Regions from separate parts of the Homo sapiens genome. Here regions 1, 3 and 4 are each linked to region 2. Evidence: promoter capture Hi-C in human tissues and cell types (Jung and others, 2019). All regions are on one chromosome and are shown on one strand. Each heading gives the region's core, a stretch centred on a gene start or on the middle of the fragment in contact. The rest is flanking DNA. Distances are from core to core; before and after follow the strand shown.

Evidence for each region. The method cuts DNA at HindIII sites, captures the fragments that hold promoters and counts their contacts. A contact is called where the count stands out against the background at its distance.
Region 1: a fragment that was not itself captured here is called in contact with the fragment with the promoter of PPP1R14D in region 2 in 1 of the 25 tissues and cell types used here (heart left ventricle).
Region 3: a contact is called between a fragment that was not itself captured here and the fragment with the promoter of PPP1R14D in region 2, in 1 of the 25 tissues and cell types used here (IMR-90 fibroblasts).
Region 4: a contact is called between a fragment that was not itself captured here and the fragment with the promoter of PPP1R14D in region 2, in 2 of the 25 tissues and cell types used here (bladder and dorsolateral prefrontal cortex).

Annotation. Positions count from the first base shown.
Region 1 is chr15:40,523,312-40,526,011 of GRCh38, reverse strand. It overlaps a transcript of CCDC32 not described here. Among named protein-coding and RNA genes, the nearest start is that of CCDC32, 40 kb to the left of the region's middle. The HindIII fragment of the contact is 5,556 bases long and covers 1-2,700 here.
Region 2 is chr15:40,827,445-40,830,144 of GRCh38, reverse strand. It overlaps PPP1R14D (protein phosphatase 1 regulatory inhibitor subunit 14D), which reads left to right and starts at 1,437. Exons shown (of 4, transcript NM_017726.8): 1 at 1,437-1,758. The coding sequence starts at 1,504. The HindIII fragment of the contact is 14,686 bases long and covers 1-2,700 here.
Region 3 is chr15:41,216,144-41,218,843 of GRCh38, reverse strand. It overlaps EXD1 (exonuclease 3'-5' domain containing 1), which reads left to right. Exons shown (of 12, transcript NM_001286441.2): 4 at 1,690-1,747; 5 at 2,049-2,176. Among named protein-coding and RNA genes, the nearest start is that of EXD1, 13 kb to the left of the region's middle. The HindIII fragment of the contact is 6,726 bases long and covers 1-2,700 here.
Region 4 is chr15:41,165,849-41,168,548 of GRCh38, reverse strand. No RefSeq gene overlaps it. Among named protein-coding and RNA genes, the nearest start is that of INO80, 51 kb to the right of the region's middle. The HindIII fragment of the contact is 6,382 bases long and covers 1-2,700 here.

The DNA of each region.
Region 1 (2,700 bases), core at 79-2,578, 300 kb after region 2:
CAGTAAAGCCCAACCACCCCAGCCACCATCCACGGTGACTTGCAGGTCATGGAGAGAAAAAAAAAAAAGGCCAAGGACAAAGATATGTAATTATTGACACTATTTTATTTATACCTAAGGAGAGACACCAAAGTATGAGCATCCAAGGGCCAGGGCATTGGGTGGACCAGACATTATGGGTGGGTGGCTTCTAAGGCTTGGAGAACCCAGGCCAGAGGCCACCCAGTATTCCCTGAGCACCTGTGGCTGAATCCTGAATGTCCTGGGTCTCTGCACTCAAAGCTTAAGGGAGAAACAAGGGGTGTCAGGCAGGGTCAGCTCTGAGGAGCAGGCGAGGTCCCAGTGGCCTGCCAGGGTGAGGTCAAAGGAGCTGAGGTCTGGGTAAGAGGACACTTCAGGTCAGTTACAGTGGCCTGAGAAGGACTGGTAGGCCTCCCTGAGGTCTTGGAAATAAGTCTAAAAGAGTGTGGCTTTAGAATATTTAGAAGGACTTTTTCAGAATTTAGGAGACATAACATAGTTTGGGGAGACTTTAGAGGAAGAGTGCTCAGCCATACATGGTGGCTCATGCCTGTAATCCCACCACTTTGGGAGGCTGAGGCGGGCGGATTACCTAAGGTCAGGAGTTTGAGACTAGCCTGGCCAACATAGTGAAACCCTGTCTCTACTAAAAATACAAAAATTGGCCGGGCGCAGTGGCTCACGCCTGTAATCCCACCAATTTGGGAGTCGAAGGTAAGTGGATCACGAGGTCAGGAGTTCGAGACCAGCCCGGCCAAGATGGTAAAACCCCATCTCAACTAAAAATACAACAAAATTAGCCAAGCACAGTGGCAGGCGCCTGTAATCCGAGCTACTCTGGAGGCTGAGGCAGAATTGCTTGAACCCGGGTGGCAGAGGTTGCGGTGAGTTGAGATTGTGCCACTGCACTCCAGCCTGGGCGACAGAGTGAGACTCCATCTCAAAAAAAAAAAAGAACAGCTTGGCTGGGCATGGTGACTCATGCCTGTAATCCCAGCACTTTGGGAAGCTGAGTGAGGGGAATGCTTGAGCCCCAGGAGTTGGGAGACCAGCCTGGGCAACATAGCGAGACTCTGCCTCTACAAAAAATTAAAAAATTAGCTGGGCATAGTGGCATAGGCCTGTAATCATAGCTACACAGGAGGCTGAGGCAGGAGGATTGCTTGACCCCAGGAGGTCGAGGCTGTAGAAAACCTGAGCAACAGAACAAGACCCAGTCTCCAAAAAAAAAAAAAAAAAAAAAAAAAAAAAGAAAGAAAAAGAACAGCTTGATGAATTTTTCCAAAGGTATACACACATGTAACCACCACCCCAATGAAGACAGAGCCTTTCCATCATTCCAGAAAGTTCTCTCATGCCTCTTTGCAGCCAATTGCCCCAACCCCCATAAGCCCCAGGCAACCACTGATCTGCTGTCCCTATAGCTTAGTTTTGTCCATTCTAGAATTTTACATAAATCCAGTTATACAGTACATACTCTTTTGTGTCTGGCTTCTTTCACTCAACATAATATTTTTAAGATTATGCATGTTGTGGCTGGGCGCGGTGGCTCAGGCCTGTAATCCCAGCACTTTGGGGAGGCCGAGGTGGGCGGATCACGAGGTCAGGAGATCGAGATCATCCTGGCTAACACGGTGAAACCCCGTCTCTACTAAAAATACAAAAAATTAGCTGGGCGTGGTGGCGGGTGCCTATAGTCCCAGCTACTCGGGAGGCTGAGGCAGGAGAATGGCGTCAACCTGGGAGGCTGGAGCTTGCAGAGCCGAGATCGCGCCATCGCACTCCAGCCTGGGCGACAGAGCCAGACTCCCGTCTCAAAAAAAAAAAAAAAAAAAAAAAAAAAAGATTATGCATGTTGTGTGTATCAATAATTTGTTCTTCTTTTAAATTACTGACTTGTCTTTAATTGTTCTGGATATACCACAATTTACTTATCCATTCTCCCGTCAACTGATATTTGTGTCCAGTTTTTGGCTACTGTGAATAAAACAGCTATGAACATTCATGTACAGCTGTTCTGTGAATATACATTTTCTTTTATCTTGGGTAAATACCACAAAATGGAACTACTGTTATGTCTGTTAGTTTTATTTTTAAAAACTGCCAATATGTTTTCTAAAGTGGTTGTCCCATTTAACACTCCCACCAGCAATGAATGAGAGTTCTAATTGTTCCATGTGTTCATCAGGACTTGGTAGTATCAGTCTTTAATTTTAGCCATTCTGGTGGGTGTGTATTTCACTGTGGCTTTAATTTGCATTTCTCAGTTGGCTATTGATATTGAGCATATTTTCATTTGTTTATTGACCCTTTTTATATCCTATTTAATAAACTATCTTTTACCTATTTACTTTTATAATTCAAAAAATTTGTTCAACACAATTTTACTGAAGTAGTTGAGGTAATTATGGTTATTTCCTTTTTACAGGTAAGGAAAATAAATCCAGAGAGACTTATCCACCTTTTCCTTTTTTTTTTTTTTTTTTGAGATGGAGTTTCGCTCTTGTTGCCCAGGCTAGAGTGCAATGGCGGGATTTTGGCTCACCACAACCTCCGCCTCCCAGGTTCAGGCAATTCTCCTGCCTCAGCCTCCTGAGTAGCTAGGATTACAGGCATGCGCCACTATGCCTGGCTAATTTTGTATTTTTAGTGGAGACGGGGTTTCTCCATGTTGGTCAG
Region 2 (2,700 bases), core at 188-2,687:
TTTAATGGAGACAAGATCTCACTGTGTTGCCCGGACTGGTCTTGAACTACTGGCCTCAAGCAATCTTCCCGCCTGGGTCTCCCAAAGCAGCTAATTTTTTGTATTATTATTATTTTTTTTTTTGGTAGAGAGAGAATTTCACCATTTTGCCCAGGCTGGTCTTGAACTCCTGAGCTCAAGCAATCCACGCGCCTCGGCCTCCCAGAGTGCTGGGATTACAGGCGTGAGCCACCATGCCTGGCCCCATTTTAAAAAAATTACAGGCTGGGCACGGTGGCTCACTCCAGTAATCCCACCACTTTGGGAGGCCGAGGCGGGTGGATCATGAGGTCAGGCATTTGAGACCAGCCTGGGCAACATAGTGAAACCTCGTCTCTACTAAAAATACAAAAAATTATCCGGGCATGGTGGTGGGCGCCTGTAATCCCAGCTTCTTGGGAGGCTGAGGCAGGAGAATTGCTTGAACTTGGGAGGCGGATGTTGCAGTGAGCCAAGATCGCAGCATTGCCCCCCAGCCTGGGTGACAGTGCGAGACTCCATCTCAAAAAAAAAAAAAAAAAAATTACAGTGTTCTTCTGTCACTTTTTTTTTTTAAAGTTTAGAAATTTTCATTATAAAAGACTAAACAAAAATACCCTGCCTTAGAATGCAAGTATGTATGCCTGGAAGTATTAGTCCCTGACACCTGTGTATAAGTTAGGTTTGCAGGTTTCCTCTGTGTCAGCAAATACATGAATCGGGGGAGGGTCACGTGGTAATAAACATGGCTTCCTAAGCAGTTGCCTCAGGGGAGCGGGCATAGTAGACAAGTCTTGATAAATTTGCCTTTACAAGCAGGTAAACTGCCTTTATAGGCCAGGCTGATAGCAGTTTACATTCGGACACACCCAGACACTGGGGGCACTGGTCCTACGGGAGCCATCAATAACTGACCTCCAACTCTATCTACCAGCTGGGGCTCTGCCCCCAGTAGTGCTACGCTCTGAGTAAGAATCCCTGCCAGCCAGGGACCCTGCTTCTGCGGAATCTGACCACAGCTTCTCAGAGCCCAGAGTGGATCCAGCCCCAGGAAGGTGGGATACAGAGGGATCTCAGGTGAGAACGACTCAGGTCCCATTCCAGAGCTGGCCATAGAGCAGCGATTGGAGCCCTGTACCCTTCAGGACCCCAGGGCCCCTTCCTCCTCCCTGGGCATGGCAGCCTCTTGACCTTTGCTCATCTGCAGTTTATGCCACTTTGGGCCCTAGAAGCTGCAGAAAGGGAGGCTGGGGCATGGCTCTGGAGTGCCACTCACTGGCTGGCAGTGAGGAGCCAGGAGACTGGCATTCCCAGCACCAAAGTCCTATTGATCTTTGCCCTTGCCCCTCCCTGGGAGCCTTGGCCCTCCTCCTGCCTTCATTTCTTCTCTGCTGGCCTCTCCTGTTCTCTGTCTCCTCACTTCCCTCTGTGGCTCTGCTCAGAACTGGCGGTTTTTCCCAGCTCCTTGCCCAGACCAATACTTCCATGCTGTCTTCAAGCCCTGCTTCCTGCACATCTCCCAGCCCAGATGGGGAGAACCCATGTAAGAAGGTCCACTGGGCTTCTGGGAGGAGAAGGACATCATCCACAGACTCAGAGTCCAAGTCCCACCCGGACTCCTCCAAGATACCCAGGTCCCGGAGACCCAGCCGCCTGACAGTGAAGTATGACCGGGGCCAGCTCCAGCGCTGGCTGGAGATGGAGCAATGGGTGGATGCTCAAGTTCAGGAGCTCTTCCAGGTAGGTAGCACAGCGGATAGTGGGAGGAGATGGGGGCCTGGGGTCCACCCAGGGCACTGAGACCTTCACAGGAGCTGGAGGGCTGATGTGAGGTGCTTCCGTGAAGAGAAAGCTTTTGTAACTGATGAAAGAAAGAAGCATCGGTTTGAAGTCCAGAAGTCTGCCTCCCTCTAGGCTTGTCTGTGCCTCTAATGCTCTTTGTGATCTGGGGAAGGTCTTTTAACATCCCTAATCTATAATAGGGCTGTTAGTGCCTGTCATATCTCCTTTATAGGACTTTCTGAGGCTCAAATGAGACAATAGAAGGGAAAATGCTTGGTCACACTATGTTTCAAAATTTTATATCTTTATTTACTCCCATGTTCAATGCACATACATGTCCGGAGCTACATTTTCGTTTCTTTTCTTTTTCTTTGTTTCTTTCTTTCTTTCTTTCTTTTGTTTTTTGTTTGTTTGTTTGTTTTTGAGACAAAGTCTTGCCCTGTTGCACAGGCTGGAATGCAGTAGTGCAATCTCAGCTCACTGCTCTGCCTGCTGGGTTCAAGCCATCCTCCCACTTCAGCCTCCTGAGTAGCTGGGACTACAGGTGCGCACCACCACGCCTGGCAAATTTTTTTGTATTTTTTTTTGTAGAGACGGCTTTTCACCATGTTGCCCAGGCTGGTCTTGAACTCCTTGGCTCAAACAGTCTGCCTGCCTCGGCCTCTCAAAGTGCTGGGATTACAGGTGTGCACCACCATGCCCAGCCTAGAGCTACATTTTCCAATTCTGTAGCCATCAGCCATGTGTAGCTGTTTGACTTTAAATGAGTTATAATTAAATAAAATTATTCAGTTCCCCAGTCACATGGGCCACATTTCTTTTTTCTTTTGCCTTTTTTTGAGACAGTCTTACTCTGTAAACCAGCCTGGAGTGCAATGCCGTGATTTTGGCTCACTGCAA
Region 3 (2,700 bases), core at 23-2,522, 390 kb before region 2:
GAGCCACTTCAGGGAATACAAGTCTGGACAGCTACATATTTCTTTCTCATTGAGTATGCTGTCATGAACACTCTGTCCCTTGAATATTCTTTTATAATGGCAGGGATAGTAGTGGTAGTTGGAGTTCTTAATTGTGTTTTCACTATCAGCCTTTGAAGTGAAACAGAGCTCTGGATTGGAGAAAGCTAGGCTGTGAATGGGTTTGTAGAGAGAAGTGAAGGAATCACTGCTATCACCTCCCCAACTCAGGAGGCTGATGGCTGACCGGCTTTGTGATCTGTATGCACGGAATTCATTGCCTCCTAAATTCTTCTCCAGGGTTTGGCCTTCGTTCATACTTTTTTTTTTTTTTTTTTTGAGACGGATTCTTACTTTGTCGCTAAGGCTGGAGTGCAGTGGTATGATCTTGTCTCACTGCAACCTTTGCCTCTGGGTTTCAAGCAATTCTCCTGCATCATCCTCCCCAGGAGCTGGGATTACAGGTGTGTGCCACCACACCCAGCTAATTTTTTTGTATTTTTAGTAGAAACGGGGTTTCACCATGTTGTCTAGGTTGGTCTCAAACTCCTGACCTCAAATGATTCACCCCCCTCACCCTCCCAAAGTGCTGGGATTACAGGCGTGAGCCACTGCACCCAGCCCAATTGTTGTATTTTTTTAGTAGAGACACAGGGTTTCGCCATGTTGGCCAGGCTGGTCTCGAACTCCTGACCTCAGGTGATCTGCCTGCCTCAGCTTCCCAGAGTGCTGGGATTATAGGCTTTGCTCATAATTTTTAAGCTCAAAGGATAGTCATTTCTGTCTTTGTCCTGTGGCCCAATCAACCATGGAGGAGTTGTCCCCAAAAGTACCTTGGATAAGAATTGTCAAGATGAAGGATAATAATGGCTAATCAGCATTTTTCAGTCAATTTTACCTTTTCTCTGCTCCAGATTCAATACTTCTAGATAGTACAGAGAAAAGAGACTTTTGAAACATAGAGGCTTTTTGCTTGAAAAGTACCTAAACGAGGCCAGATGTGGTGGCTCACGCCTGTAATCCCAGCACTTAGGGAGGCTGAGGCGAGCGGATCAAGAGGTCAAGAGATTGAGACCAGCCTGGCCACAATGGTGAAACCCCGTCTCTACTAAAAATACAAAAGTTAGCTGTGTGTGGTGGCGCATGCCTGTAGTCCCAGGCATGGGACTTGGGAGGCTGAGGCAGGAGTATCACCTGAACCTGGGAGGCGGAGGTTACAGTGAGCTGAGGTCGCACCTCTGCACTCCAGCCTAGGCAACAGTGCGAGACTTCATCTCAAAAAAAAAAAAAAAAAAAGGAAAACCCTCAAACAGCACCCATGTGAAGGAAGGTGCATTAGGATTGGGATGGTGGGAAAGAAATCTCTAGAACTAACTTGAATGACCACAAAGGTACCCTAGAACAAAAAGGGTGAAGGGGATGTATAGAAATGTTCCTAATCCTTCTAAATAACCAAGAAGCTTTGTAGGGATAGAATACTGAGAGTCTTTGGTACTTTAGATGGTCTCTTCTGTTGTATTTATTGCTGGCCAGTAAAAGCCTCCGTGGACTAACATGTCATTTCCAATTATTGTTTGCAGTACATGGTTAAACTAGGGGTGTGTGGGTAGTGGAGTAGTTAATTGATTTCTGATTGGAAACTCTGTTGGAAGCCATTTGGTTATTTTACAGTGGAACTACTAGATGAAGTGGAACAAGGCTCAGTGAGAGCAAAAGCATCTTCTGTTAGGTAAGAAGGAATAATTTTCTTAATTATGATATTTTCCAAATGTGCACATTAGGGTAGAAAGCCTTAACTCTAATTCACCAGCTGCTTAATTCCTTGGCATAAGGAAATAGAAATGAGAAGAAATATATAGGTGTTTTCTTCCATTGTTAGATAGCGCCCTCAAGTCAATGTAAGCAGTGGATGAATGGGTCCTCTAGTTAATGAAGGACCACTGTCCTTAACGTTAATGTGTGGCAAAATCTGTTTTTGGTGTCAACAACAAAGAACAAGTTCACCCAAATATTGTTTCTTGTAAGGATAGTCTACATGCAGAAAGAACCTGGATGGAGAAAATGAAAGTTGAAGACCTAAATGTATGTGAGCCTGCTTCTCCTGCCCCTGAAGCACCAGCTACCTCTCTGCTGAATGACCTCAAGTACAGCCCATCAGGTGAATATAGGGGCTCTGAATTTTCTTTTTTTTTTTGAGATGGAGTTTCGCTCTTGTTGCCCAGGCTGCAGTGCAATGGCGTGATCTCGGCTCACTGCAACCTCCACCTCCTGGATTCAAGCAATTATCCTGCCTCTGCCTCCATAGTAGCTGTGATTACAGGCATGTGCCACCACGCCCAGCTAATTTTGTATTTTTAGTAGAGACGGGGTTTCTCCATGTTGATCAGGCTAGTCTCGAACTCCCGACCTCAGGTGATCCGCCCGCCTTGGCCTCCTAAAGTGTTGTGATTAAAGGCATGAGCCACTGTGCCCAGCCGAGGCTCTGAATTTTCTAGGCTCTCTCTCTCTTTTTTTTTTTTTTAACCAGGTCAGTCAAATTCAACTAGGCTCTCTTTACTGTTTAGAGTTGATGTAACCCTGAATCAAGATTCTCTATGGAATCCTAAGCTGAGCCATTGCTTCTGGGTTCTGAATTAAGATAAAATATTGTGATTCATTTGTTTATTTAATAACTGAGTACAT
Region 4 (2,700 bases), core at 179-2,678, 340 kb before region 2:
GTTAGCCGGGTGTGGTGGGCACCTGTAGTCCCAGTTACTCGGGAGGCTGAGGCAGGAGAATGGCGTGAACCCAGGTGGCGGAGCTTGCAGTGAGCCGAGATTGCGCCACTGCACACTCCAGCCTGGGCGACGAGCGAGACTCCCTCTCAAAAAAAAAAAAAAGTAAACAGGAAGAGATACACACAGAGACCAAGAAGGAGAAGACAAATAGGAAGAAAATCAGAATAGTATTATGTAAACCAGAAACCTCATTTGTAGTTTGATGAACTCTCATTGTAAGTTATATCAACCACAAATTATTTTTAACGGTTTTACTAAGATATAATTTTTTTTTTTTTTGAGACAGAGTTTCACTCTTGTTGCCTAGCCTGGAGTGCAATGGCTTGATCTCAGATCACTACAACCTCCGCCTTCTGGGTTCAAGCGATTCTCCTGCCTCCTCCCAAGTAGCTGGGATTACAGGCATGCACCACCCCGCCTGGCTAATTTTGTATTTTTAGTAGAGCCAGGGTTTCACCATCTTGGTCAGGTTGGTCTTGAACTCCCGACCTCAGGTGATCCACCTGCCTTGGCCTCCCGAAGTGCTGGGATTACAGGCGTGAGCCACCGCGCCCGACTGATATAATTTTTTTTTTTTTGAGACAGTGTTTCACTCTATCACCCAGGATAGAGTGCAGTGGCGAAATCTTAGCTCACTGCAACCTCCACCCTCTGGGGTTAAGTGATCCTCCCACTTCAGTAGCTGGGACCACAGGCGTGCACCACCATACCCAGCTATTTTTTTGTATTTTTAGTAGAGACAGAGTCTCGCCATGTTGCCCAGGCTGGTCTCGAACTCTTGGACCCAAGCGAACTGCCCACCTTGGCCTCTTTTTCTTTCAAGTCAAATGATTTTGTTAGACTATGTTTTGGTGTTGGTCATTCTGGATCACCATTTTCAGATACAGTGTGATTTTTAAAATATGCTGTATAGTTTTTTGTTTGTTTTTTAGAGATGGGGTTCTTATTATACTGCCAAGGCTAGACTCCAACTCCTGGCCTCAAGTGATCCTCCCAAAGTGCTGGGATTACAGGCATGAGACGCCCTGCCCGGCCATCTTACATAATATTCTTAATGCATTTTAGCTTTTTATGCACCAATATATTAGAGTGTTCATCTATTTATTTTTTATTTTTTTTATTTTGAGACACTCTCACTCTGTCACCCAGGCTGGAGTGCAGTGACATAATCACTGCTCACTGCAGTCTTGACTTCCTGGGCTCAAGCAATCTTCCCACCTGAGCCTCCCAAGTAGCTAGGACTAGAGGCATGTGCCACCATGCCCAGCTAGTTTTCAAAAAAAAATTTGGGGCTGGGCGCAGTGTCTCACACCTGTAATCCCAGCACTTTGGGAGGCCGAGGCAGGCGGATCACAAGGTCAGGAGTTCGAGACCAGCCTGGCCAGTATGGTGAAACTTCATCTCTACTAAAAATACAAAAATTAGCCAGGCACTGTAGCATGCGCCTGTAGTCCCAGCTACTCAGGAGGCTGAGGCAGAAGAATCGCTTGAACTCGGGAGGCGGAGGTTGCAGTGAGCCGAGATCACGCCATTCCATTGCAGCCTGGGTGATAGAGCAAGACTCCATCTCAAAAAAAAAAAAAAAAGGGGTTTCTTTGGGCCAGGCATGGTGACACATGCCTGTAATCCCAGCTACTGGGGAGGTGAGGCAGGAGAATCACTTGAACCCAGAGGTGGAGGTTGCAGTGAGCTGAGATCACGCCACTGCACTCCAGCCTGGGTGAAAGAATTAGACTTCGTCTCAAAAAAAAATTTTTTTGGCGGGGGCAGACAGGTTCCCACTATGTTGTCCAGGCGGTCTAGAACTCCTGGCTTCAATCAGTTTTCCTGCCTTGGCTCCCCAAAGTGCTGGCATTACAGGTGTGAGCCACCACATCAGGCTAGGCTCAATTAATTTTTTAACTTCACAGAGCTTCCTATTTTGTTGTTTTTGTGTAGTGTTAAAATCACAGTTATTTGCTTTCTGAGATTTCTTGGCTTTGTCTTCTTCCCTAGTACTTTTATCTCTCTTTCCTTTCTGTTTTCCCTACCCTGCTCAGTTTTTGTTCCATTTCTAGAAGTTTCTCCCCAGTGTGTGAACTTGTCCTGGAAGGGATCCATGGTTGGTTATTATACAGAGCTTATAGGGTCTAGACTGTTCAAGCCTGGGTATACCTTCAGACTGTGGGATCCTTTCATGCAATTGCTATTGGAGTGAAAAAACCCCTTTTGGTTTCAGCTGTTGTTCTCAAATTGGCGCTTAACACTCTCTAGTGAATACCAATTTTCTTCTTAGGTCTGTCAGATACCCCATTGCTTCCCTCTACTGTTTTTCCCACATGGTTGTCAGTATCTCTTGGGTTGTCCCCACCTCTTTGCAATTTCAGGTTTATGAGTTACTTCATCACCCAGTATGTTGTAAATATTGTTCATGGGTTTGGAGTTTTGTCCTCTAATTATTCTGTTTTTACATGGGGATTTGAGAAGATCTAGAAAGTATGCCACCGTTACCACCCTGCCATCTTCCCAGAATCTTGGTATATACTTTCCTTGCTTCTAAAAGGCCTAATACTATGGCTTCCATCTTGGGTGCACTCTTTCTGTCAGATCACTTGTTCTGGTTGCCATGTTGGGAGAATACTTTTGGGAGGATTCGGCCCG